Linked DNA regions of Homo sapiens: all the other regions are linked to region 3. The links are contacts of gene promoters, found by promoter capture Hi-C in blood cells and fetal thymus (Javierre and others, 2016). All regions are on one chromosome and are shown on one strand. The core of a region is centred on a gene start or on the middle of the fragment in contact, and the rest is flanking DNA. Distances in the headings are between cores, read along the strand shown.

Region 1 (3,689 bases), core at 1,190-3,689, 2.3 Mb before region 3:
GTTTTAGGGTACATGTGCCAAGTTGGTGTGCTGCACCCATTAACTCGTCATTTAACATTAGGTATATCTCCTAATGCTATCCCTCCCGCCTCCCTCCACCCCACAACAGGCCCCAGTGTATGATGTTCCCCTTCCTGTGTCCATGTGTTCTCACTGTTCAATTCCCACCAATGAGTGAGAACATGCGGTGTTTGGTTTTTTGTCCTTGCGATAGTTTGCCGAGAATAATGGTTTCCAGCTTCATCCATGTCCCTACAAAGGACATGAACTCATCATTTTTTTCACTGCATAGTATTCCATGGTGTATATGTGCCACGTTTTCTTAATCCAGTCTATCATTGTTGGACATTTGGGTTGGTTCCAAGTCTTTGCTATTGCGAATAGTGCCACAATAAACATATGTGTTCATGTGTCTTTATAGCAGCATGATTTACAGTCCTTTGGGTATATACCCAGTAATGGGATGGCTGGGTCAAATGGTATTTCTAGTTCTAGATCCCTGAGGAATCGCCACACTGACTTCCACAATGGTTGAACTAGTTTACAGTCCCACCAACAGTGTAAAAGTGTTCCTATTTCTCCACATTCTCTCCAGCACCTGTTGTTTCCTGACTTTTTAGTGATCGCCATTCTAACTGGTGTGAGATGGTATCTCATTGTGGTTTTGATTTGCATTTCTCTGATGGTCAGCGATGATGAGCATTTTTTCATGTGTCTTTTGGCTGCATAAATGTCTTCTTTTGAGAAGTGTCTGTTCACATCCTTTGCCCACTTGTTGATGGGGTTGTTTTTTTCTTGTAAATTTGTTTGAGTTCATTGTAGATTCTGGATATTAGCCCTTTGTCCGATGAGTAGATTGCAAAAATTTTCTCCCATTCTGTAGGTTGCCTGTTCGCTCTGATGGTGGTTTCTTTCGTACCACCCCTTCTTTAATAGCATCTTTCTCTTTGGTTCTAACTCCGCCAAATCCTCATTTATCACTTTGTCTCCAATAAGAATCTGCTGAGACAGGAAACCCCCTTTCATCAACGAGTAGGGCTTCTCAAATGTTAACATGAATAAAAATCACCCGGGGGGTCTTAATAAAACTCAGATTCTGATTCAGTAGGGCTGGCTGGGGCCTACGATTCTACCTTTGCAGGAAGCTCCCAGATGATGCGGCTGCTGCTGGTCAGGGAAGCACTATTTCAGGAAACTTCTTAGCAGCTTTGGTGCTCACCCCAAACGTTGTATCACCAAAGCTTTTCCTGGGCGCAACTAATATGCTCTCAAAAAATCAACTCTCTGCTGGGCGCGGTGGCTCATGCCTGTAATCCCAGCATTTTGGGAGGCCAAGGCAGGCGGATCACTTGAGGTCAGGAGTTTGAGACCAGCCTGTCCAACATAGTGAAACCTTGTCTCTACTAAAAATACAAAAATTAGCTGGGCGTGGTGGCGGAAGCCTGTAATCCCAGCTACCCAGGAGGCTGAGGCAGGAGAATCACTTGAACCCAGGAGGTGGAGGCTACAGTGAGCCAAGATTGCACCACTGCACTCCAGCCTAGGTGACAGAGGGAGACTCCGTCTTAAAACAAAACAAACAAAAAAACCCCAAACAAACAACAATCAACTCTCAACCAATTCCTGAATTAAGATTAGGTCAATAGCTTCCATACTGATGTTGGTTCTCAAACTGTACTTAAAAGCTTTGTTTTTTTTTTCATTTTGCCAATCCATCTTCCTAGTTTCTGGCTGATTACTGTTACTTATGTAAACACGACATGTCACATGCTTCAACTCTTGGTCCTTAATCATTCCTCCTGAGCAACTCATGTACAACAGTAGTTATTTTCTAATTTTTTTAATATTTACTTCTTTAAATCATAAATTATCTTTTTATTAGCACTTTTAAAACTTTCACTGTTTTTTAATTTAATAGATATGATGGAATTAAGAATGTTCAGAAAGCACCTCAAATACAAACATGCCATAGACTAATAAACAGTGCATTGGTCAAGACAGAAATGATCAGGCACAACCAGTAAAGCTATTTTTTAGTGACAGGCAAGAGTCTTTTTTGAGTGGATTTGGTGCTTTGTTGGAATGTATGAAACTTAGTAAATTGAAAGCTTATGTGTAGAGTTTAATTGAATAAAAGAAAAAAATTTAATATTTCCCAGTACTTGTGGTTTTCAAATCTACTAGATACTAAGGGACCTGTCTGTAGATTTGATCATTTGATCACTTGCTTTGTTCCAGGCACTGTTTCTGAGAGGTAGAAGAAGGCTCAATAAACAGCACTCCTCTTTCTTACTTGTCTGAGCAAACTGAGAAATAAAACAATAGTGTCAGCATAAAGAGGCCAAAATATCACTTTTATATCTAGGAAGACTGATGGAACACATGGCTTATATTCATGGGCAAGCAGAACTTCTAGTACCCAGTCACAAAAAGCACTGGGTTGCCCTTCAAGCCTGTCTTTAGGCAGCAGAATGAATGCTCTTTGTTGGAAGTGTTCACTCAACAAAAAGAAAAGAAGATGAGACCAAGCTCCTTACTTCTAGCTCACTAATCATCGTAGTCACCTCTTCCCCACCAGGAGAGGCTGGGTACTTCTTTATGTTAGCAGAAGAGCTCCCTTCCCATGGAAGAAAACATCAAGAGTGGGGAAGAGGTGGTCCCCCAGCTACAAGCTAAGTCCTTTATCTTATTTAACTCCTGCAACAAGACATTTACTGGGTGTCTGTTATGTGCCATTCACTGTTTTCATTGCTGGGGATGCAAAGCTTAATAAGACAGAGCAGTTTACATCTGGGCCTGTACTTGTGCTACTTACCTCACTGGCCTCATCCAATCCCAGCCCTAACAGATCCTGTGTATTTAAAATTTTGATATTTTGTTCATCACAGATTTTTTTTCATTAATTTTGAATTTTTTAAATATTGTATTAAAATATTACTTATCTTGATTACTGAGCTTTTTGGCTCCCGTAAATTTTGTACCTGAGGTGAATGCCTTATTTGTCGTGGTTTTAAAATATGTTTGTAAACAACTAAATTAATAAATAGCAAATAATTATTGAATAAATTTTCTAATGTGTACTAAGTTGAGAAACAGGCTACGTGATAGGAAGTGATTGGGTGTGTAACTTGAATGGTAAGTAAAACCTATCTAATGTGATGCTATTTAGGATGTGACCCTTATGTTATAAGGAGCCAGACAAGGGACAGTTTGGAGAAAAGTTTGTGAAAACACCACAGGTGGAAATAAACCTGGAATTTTCTAAGAACACACCAAAAAAAAAAAAAAAAAAAAGGCTATTATGTCTTAATTGTCAAGGACATGATAGGTGACTAGTAATCAATTTGGATACAGTGCTAGAAAACATTCAAATTTTAGGGCTTTTTAAGGGGGTAAGTAGTTTGAATTTTATTCCAAGTGCCCAGGAGGCAATTGGAAGATTTTAAGCAGGGGAGCAACGTGATCCGATTGATCTTTTAAATAACTCTTTCTGGCTGCTGTGTCAAGGATGGATTATAGGGGTGTGTATGGCAAAAGAGTAGAATCTGGAAGAACTGTCTGTGTTCCCATTGAAAGAGGATGGTGCCTTCGACCAGGATAAATATAGTGAAGATATAGAAAGAGAAGGAGGTTCCAGAAATACTTCAGGAGTAGAGTTGATTGGATTTGATGGGTTAATATGGGGAATG
Region 2 (3,788 bases), core at 1,256-3,755, 2.2 Mb after region 3:
CAGCGACATACCAGATTCTCATAGGAGCACAAACCCTATTGTGAAATGCACATAGGAGGGATCTAGGTTGCTCGCTCCTTATGAGAATCTAACTAATGCCTGATGATCTGAGCTGGAATAATTTTATCCCAAAACCATCCCTGCTCCGTCTGTGGAAAAATTGTTCTCCACAAAACAAGTCCCTGGTACCAAAAAGGTTGGGGACTGCTGTCCTAGCACACCTCATCTCTCTTATTCCTTAATGTTTCTGAAACTAAAAGCACTTTTAGAAAAATGTGTATAATTAAACCATCAAACAGCTGTTTAGAGATGAGAGAGCAATTTGGATTTCTGAAGCCATAAAGGTAAATTTGGCAAATATCCTAGTGAAGGTATGGTAGGGTCTACGTGTCACATTCATTCCCATGTCCAGGTAGCTCGCATTTTCAAACTAGAAAGGGTAATAAATGCTTTCCCTCCTTCCCCACATCCAAACATATCACAAGGATTTTGTTTTCCTTACTTCAAGAACCTTAAACATCTACAATTAGTTCAATATTCTAATATTCTTCTGCTTGTTGATATCACAAGCAGAAAATTGAGAAAGGTTATTCAATTGCTTTATCTCATCAGAAAAGAAAGGCTGTAAATTAGAAGCTTTAACCTGGTGTTACAGAAAAGCACAACAAATTTTAAACATACATACAAGGCCGGATGCAGTGACTCATGCCTGTAATCCCAGCACTTTGGGAGGCCAAGGCGGGTAGATCACATGAGGTCAGGAGTTCAAGACCAGCCTGACCAACACGGTTAAACCCCATCTCTACTAAAAATACAAAAATTAGCTGGGCATGGTGGCGGGCACCTGTAATCCCGGCTACAGCTACTCGAGAGTCTGAGGCAGGAGAATCACTTAAACCCAGGAGGCAGAGGTTGCAGTGGGCCAAGATCAGGCCACTGCATTGCACTCCTGCCTGGGCAACAAGAGCGAGACTCCATCTCAAAAAATAAAATAAACATATAAGTTTATAAATACATACACATGCATATGCACAAGTGCACACATATATTCCACAGCGTCACTAAGTATTAATTTGTACATTTATCGTGTAATGAACAAGCCCTATAGTATCTGTATGAATTCTGACCCATTATTACATCAACCTGAACCCATACTTCAGTCTTATAAATATGTGTAAACTCACTGACACGTGTTCTACGTACTTTTTAGATTTTCACAATTGCTTAGCCACTTTGCTAAGAGACCTGTGGTTATCAGCTACTATACATGTACAAAGAAATCAAAAAGATCTAAAATTGGGCTACCATTATTTGAAGAAAAAAGTTGAACGTCCTCTCATTCCAAGAAGGAAAATACGCACAGCATTCGAAATAGCACCATTATTATAGAACTGAGAGTTAGGTTACCCGACCCTGCAAGTTTAATATAGCCGGTGTTTCTAAGCTCTGCCTGGTCTCCACATCTCTGCTTGGAATTGAGTTTAAGGCTGAACTCTAAGTAAACAATTTCACGCGTGCTGAAAACCCAACTCTACCCCACTCGCTGATGAAACGAAGGTGACACCTCTCATTATTAAGGTCAGAATCTGTGCAAATGAAAAAGGACCAATCAATCACTTCACCTTCGAATGCAGGCCAAGGTTACAATCTGGGCAGCCTGTGGTGAGAATGAAAGAGCAGACGCTGCCGGTGAAGCAAGGCTGAGTTTCACTCAGAGGCAGGAAGCCCTGGAGCCTGTCCTTTCCCTCCCCAGGATGCCCGAGGGCCGGCCATGAGTAAAGGGCCCACCTCTGCGCTCAGCCCTAGAGGCTAAGGGACAACAGTTGATTTTAAGACAATTGTCCGTCCACGCCCTTTTGTTTTTTTCAAAAAAACAAACAACAAAAAAAACCCCAGCAGATCAGCGACCCGGCGTGTGGAACTGCCTCGCGGCTACCGCCCCCACTCACCGCACACCATCAGCAGCAGGACGATCAGCAGCGTGGCCACGAACACAAGCAGAGTCAGCCCGACGCTGTGCCACATCTTGGGGGCAGAAGGGCAGTCGGCTCGGGGCGGCTGGCGCGGACGGCGGTGAGCGCGGGCGGCGGCGCGTCCTGCGCTTCAGCGGCGGGCGCCAGGCGCGGCTGGGCGCCGGGGCGGCATGGGCGGCTGGCGCCCCCTCGGCAGCGCCCCCAGGGGGTGGGGCGGCGCAAAGGCGGGCACTGTGGGACCGCCCGCCCGCCCGATCCTTTTCCCGCCGGGGTGGCCAGAGCGCGGGAGGCAGGCGGGCCTCAGGGCGCCTCTAGTCCCTCATCGCCCCGGAGAGCCGAGGCCGCGGCACCCAGAGACCCCAGCGGTCGGATGCGCTTCCATGGCGGACGCCGCGCGCCTGTAGGGAGGACAGAGGGTAAGCACGGGTACACACGGCGGCCACAAGGCCCTCGTCGCTGTCCACCCGTGTCTCTGAGACCCCAGGGATGCCAGATGTCAGCGTCGCCCGGCCGCGGCTGTAGCGGCTTCTCCGCCCCAGGCCCCCTACCGCTGGGGCAGCTCATCACCAAGCTCGCCTCCTCCGCGGCGCGGGGTCGGCTGGGAGATGGAGTGCAGAGCCTGGTGGAGTCGGGACGGCGTTGTCTCGCAGGGACTACAACTCCCAGAATGCACCGCCACTCGGGCTTCGCTGCTTTCATTCTCGGGCGGCTCTGCCTTTGGTCTTGCTCAAGTCGCCTCAGTCGGACGACCGTGGGCTGGCCTTCTCCAAAGCCGCGGATCTGGCTGCCCGTCCTGCTGAGGCGCCAGTGAGATTTCAACCATTACTCCGTATACAAAGTCGTTTTGTTTCTAGCCGTAATCGATGAAGTACGGCGAGAGAGGAAAGAGGAGGCGGCTGCCTGAAAAACTGGTTGCTCGTGCACCTAGCCCTGTTGCCGGGGGCGAAGGTTGGCTATTTGGGACTTGGAGGAAGAACTCAGGTCCCTGCCGCAGACGCGGGTCAGGACACGAAATCTCATTTTCCCCCTGCAACAGATGTTATGTTCTATCTTTTCGTAAGTAAAGCATTTCAGAAATGGCCCGCGGGTGACTTAAGGACAGCTGCACTGCCCTCAAATCACCTGCCTGAGTTGTAAGTTAGACCCAGCTGCCTCCTTGAGACCAAGCTTGGAGATTTTGCCGCACTGGCTTACACCTCTACGAAACAAGACACTGTAGTAATCTCAACTACTGTATCTCCACCCAAAATTGAAACTCCCCACTTCCGCCAGATTACATTCATTTGTTAAAGAGGTGCCCCCAGAAGAATAGAGGGTAAATGTGTCCCTCTTTTAGAAGGAATCAGAGCCTTCGAGTTTTCCTGTGATTCTTTTGCTCCCTGAGATACCTTTTTACTCTTCTAAAAATTACAGTTTCCTGTCTTCTGTCTCCAAAAACAAACACAAAAGTTCTAAGCAGCAATCCCTTGATTTAATAAATGTATCCTGCCATACCCAGCTGCCCTACTATGTGAACTGTATTCCCTAAGAAGCAACATTAGGAACAAATACCATGTATAAAAATACATTAAAGGATAATTACTTGCTTTGCAACAGATTTAATATAGATTCCTGTGAAGAGAATGAACCCAGTGCAATTAAGATATATTTACAAAAAATCAGTGTGTGCTTTTTTCATGGGTGGTTCAATTATGTTGCATAATTAAAACACATTTTATTAAAAGCCAGTTGAAAATACGCGTCAGGGCTAGGCGAGGTGGCTCACGCCTGTAATCCCAGCACTTTGGGAGGCTAAGGCGAGCAGATCACCTGAAG
Region 3 (3,838 bases), core at 1,203-3,702:
AGTGTTGTAAGCTGTTGTGAGCACTTCAGTTTTTCCTTTGAGAGAAATGGGGAGCCACTGAAGGATTTTTTGCAGAGGGATATTTTTAGATTCATTCTGGCTGCAGAGTTGACAAAAGTCTCAAAGTGTTATCTCTTAGGGAAGCTTCCACATATTCTGTTATCAGCTCATCAAAAAACAGAATGGAGGGCAGTTGAAGGCACCCATATTGCTGTCACCATTCAGTGAACAGCAGTCTTGAAAATTGATTGTATGAATTGGAGTAATCTTCATACCCAGCTAAATTAGAGTCCAGAGATGAGGGAGAAGAGAAAGCAGTTGGGGCACAAAGTGCCTGCCCAGGAATTATATTGAAAGCCAGCTGCCAAGGTGACCTGCTATAACCTGAAGACCAGTTTCACCCAGTAGCTGCTGAAACGAATTGCTGTAACTCTAAGACTAGTTTTACTTACCACCTTCTCTCACAAATTAGAGCTTGCCTGTTCCTAAAAACTTTGCTTAGGGTCAATGAGCTATCTTTCAAGGTAATACATAACATTTCTCTAATGAAACCTCCAACCATCTCTTTGTTGTTCTGAAGACCACCCCAGTCTGTGTGTATGCCCTGAACTGCAATTCTGTTTTCCCAAATAAAATGATTTAGAGACTCATCTTTGCATTTTTAATTGATCTTGACACAGCCAATTCACATATATCCCTACTGTGCCACATGCCAGGCACCATGCCAAGCACTTTACATACTTTCTCATTTAACCCTTCCCACCTTCTATATAATCACCATTGGTGATGATTTTATTTTATTATTAATATTTTTTGAAATGGAATTTCTCTCGTTGCCCAGGCTGGAGTGCGGCGGCACCATCTCAGCTCACTGCAACCTCTGCCTTCCGGGTTCAAGCGATTCTCCTGCCTCAGCCTCCAGAGTAGCTGGGATTACAGGTGTGTGCCATCACACCCAGCTAATTTTGTATTTTTACTAGAGACAGGGTTTCACCATGTTGGCCAGGCTGGTCTCGAACTCCTGACCTCAGGTGATCCGCCTGCCTCGGCTTCCCAAAGTGTTGGGATCATAGGCATGAGCCACGGCGCCCAGCCAGCACCGATCACTTTTTAACACACTACATCATTGACTTATTTATTTTAGTTTTTATTGGATCTGTCCTCCCACCAGAATGTCAGTTTCACAAGGTTAGGGATCTTTGCTTCGGTAGCTGATGTATCCTGAGTCCATAGAACAGCGCCTGCACACAGTAAGTGCCCAGCCCTGGTGATGATTTTAAAGACAAGAAAAGGCAATTATAAAAGTTAGTGACCGGCCCAAGGTTTAGATGAAGTAAATGGAACTTGTGTAAGGTAACTTGAAGAACTCTGCTTACTCATGTGAACACTACCCAAGGAAGGTTTAGTACCCCAGTACTGAGGAACTAAAGATGGTGGTGGTAAGGGAGTGGGGAGGGGCATCAGTGTTTGAGTTCAACCACCACACGTTTCTTCATTTTTAAGTTCTGTCTAGCCATTATACACACATTTGTCTGCACTATAACTGGACTTCTGCACTGTTGATAGTCCTAAGTTTCCTTCAAAGCTTGGCATCCGTGTGGCTTATTTGGTAGAGATTTGAACTTTCAAAGGGACGATACCCATCATTGGGGATTTCTCTCAAACCCTGGCGGTTTAAAAACCTACTTGGGCACTGCTGCTCAGCCAGCCCGAGGACCAGGGAGGCAAGCACAGAAATAGAAAGCATTTGTAAGTGTTAGTAGCTACTTTAAAGAGTAACTCTGTTCTGTTAGACCTACTAATAACAAATTAGGAGCTTGCATTTAGCACATCTTTTTTTAAAAAAAAAACACGTTCATTTTTCTCCTATGTTATAGTGTTTTACCTGAGAGGCTGAATATACTAAGACAATGGCCAAATCTAATATAAAAATAGACCTCCAATCCACAACCTGCAGCAACCTGCCCAGAAAACCAGTCAGTTACCTACAATAACCAACCCAGGGAGCCTGCCTGCTCTAAATCAGACTTGCACTCCTCTGCCTGCCTTTTTTCTTCTCATTCGGATGGTCTTCATCTATTCCCACATACCTGGGGTGGGGAGGAAATTAGCAAAAGCAAAACCCGGGTCCTGCACGCAGGCAGCTTAAGTACGGCCCTAGGGCTCGGGTCTTCCCTAGGCAAGAACCTCGAGGGCCGGACACGGGAGTGCAACCCAGGCACGCGCCTTCGGATGGCCAGAGTAAATGGTCGCGAGATTTTGCGGGGTAGCAAGGGGCCGGGTGCCCACGGCGGGAGAAACTACACTACTCTGGAGGCGAGCCTAGCCCTTCATCCCGTCGGGTTTCACAAACGAAGCCAGAGCTTCCTGGAGTGAGGGTGGAGCTTCCTGCCCGCGCCCTCTGCGCATGCGCCCGCCCGGCGCCCGCCCGGCGACCTGGAGTTGATGTCACGTCCGGCGGCGGCGGCAGCGGCAGCGGCAGCGGCGCTGAGTTTTGTCTCCCGGGCCGTCTGGGCGCGCGCGGGTGTCCCAGGTACCCCGCCGCCTCCCTCCTTCCCGCAGGACTCGTCCCTCCTGGCCCTGGGCCCCAACGGTGCCCGCCTGCCCGGCGGTCGGTCAGCGCACAGGGCACGGCTTCCTCTGCTTCTCCCGGACCACTTAGTCTCAACCCGGGTGTGTTTGCACTACTAGAGGTGAAGCATCCATCATAGAGAGAATGGGACCTGGGGTCTTGGACCAGGGTGTTTTTACTTTTCCCATCAGGTGGACGCGCATGGGCAGGAGATATTATTTGCAGCATTTCCTCCTAGAGGACGCCTTTGTCATTGTAGTGCAATCTAAGAATGGGTGTCCTTAGACAACAGGGACCGACCAAATCGTCATGCAGCTGTTTGGATGCTTTAAAAAAATAAATCCCCACACTCATTACGCGTTTTATGCTGCTGACTTTTTTATTTTTAAGACATCTGCTCCCGAAAGCTCAGAGCCCTTTAGCATTTCATTTTCTAAACGAATCCTAATCTTTCCTGTGACTGAATCGGTTCAGAGGATATCTTTTCAATAAGGAAGGAAGCCCTCCCCTGCTCACTGGGGACGTCGCAGGGTTTTTAAACCTAAAGATTTACTCTTTTGTGCACAGACGCTGGAAGCATTTGGGTGAGGCAGTGCAGTGCTTTTTGGGAAATGCATCAGATCTTTTCTGTTCTTGAAACGCCAAATCTAACTTGGTCTTTTTTTGGATGAATTACCGCCAGTATTATGAAGGTTACTGTGAAGGAACTTGAGACCACTGAACTTTTTGAGTTCTTGCGGTAGATTTTAAATCGTTTTTCCGTCTTCAACTCTGACTTTGGGATCACTGTCAATTGGCTACATTCTTTACCCTCTTCTAGTTATAATTTAATGCGATTTATTTGTTGTGGGTTTTGAATTTCGATAGCTACACTTAATAGAATTGTGTTTAAAAGAAAGATAAGTGAGGAACTCGTGGCTTTTTACTTTTATATAACTTAATTTTTCATTTTACAAAATGCCCATTTAAAAAAAAGTAGCTAAGCAAAAGAAAGGAAATTAAAATCATCTAGAATCCTACTATCTAAAGATAACCATTGCTAACATTTTGGAATAGAGTGTTAAGTTTTAAAATACATGAAATTTGTAAAAAACAAAAAATGAAATCATAGTGTATACTGTTTGAGTATAATTTGCTTGACGTATCTTGCCTGGCTTCCATTTCACTTATTTTTTTTCTTTGCGCATTTATAATAGCTACAGAATGTTCTATTGTGCTAGGCACTCATAGGTATAGTGGGAAACCTAGTGCATAAACCTTGTGCCA

What was found. Contacts are between HindIII fragments. The CHiCAGO score rates a contact against its expected background, and 5 or more counts as called.
Region 1: a contact is called between a fragment that was not itself captured here and the fragment with the promoter of TBC1D7 in region 3, in 2 of 17 cell types (total B cells and naive CD8 T cells). The highest score is 5.3, in total B cells.
Region 2: a contact is called between the fragment with the promoter of SMIM13 here and the fragment with the promoter of TBC1D7 in region 3, in 1 of 17 cell types (fetal thymus). The highest score is 6.4, in fetal thymus.

Annotation. Positions count from the first base shown.
Region 1 is chr6:15,664,081-15,667,769 of GRCh38, reverse strand. No RefSeq gene overlaps it. Among named protein-coding and RNA genes, the nearest start is that of DTNBP1, 2.9 kb to the right of the region's middle. The HindIII fragment of the contact is 657 bases long and covers 2,111-2,767 here.
Region 2 is chr6:11,092,551-11,096,338 of GRCh38, reverse strand. SMIM13 (small integral membrane protein 13) reads right to left here and starts at 2,505. Exons shown (of 2, transcript NM_001135575.2): 1 at 1,950-2,505. The coding sequence starts at 2,025. RefSeq lists enhancers at 1,816-1,935, 1,816-2,357, 2,606-2,815, 2,358-2,898 and a silencer at 2,036-2,345. The HindIII fragment of the contact is 2,504 bases long and covers 639-3,142 here.
Region 3 is chr6:13,327,151-13,330,988 of GRCh38, reverse strand. TBC1D7 (TBC1 domain family member 7) reads left to right here and starts at 2,452. Exons shown (of 8, transcript NM_016495.6): 1 at 2,452-2,693. It overlaps TBC1D7-LOC100130357 (TBC1D7-LOC100130357 readthrough), which reads left to right and starts at 2,452. Exons shown (of 9, transcript NM_001318809.2): 1 at 2,452-2,533. It overlaps LOC124901261 (a long non-coding RNA gene), which reads right to left and starts at 2,374. Exons shown (of 2, transcript XR_007059457.1): 1 at 2,091-2,374; 2 at 1,132-1,264. RefSeq lists an enhancer at 2,107-2,613 and a silencer at 2,247-2,636. The HindIII fragment of the contact is 4,199 bases long and covers 1,588-3,838 here.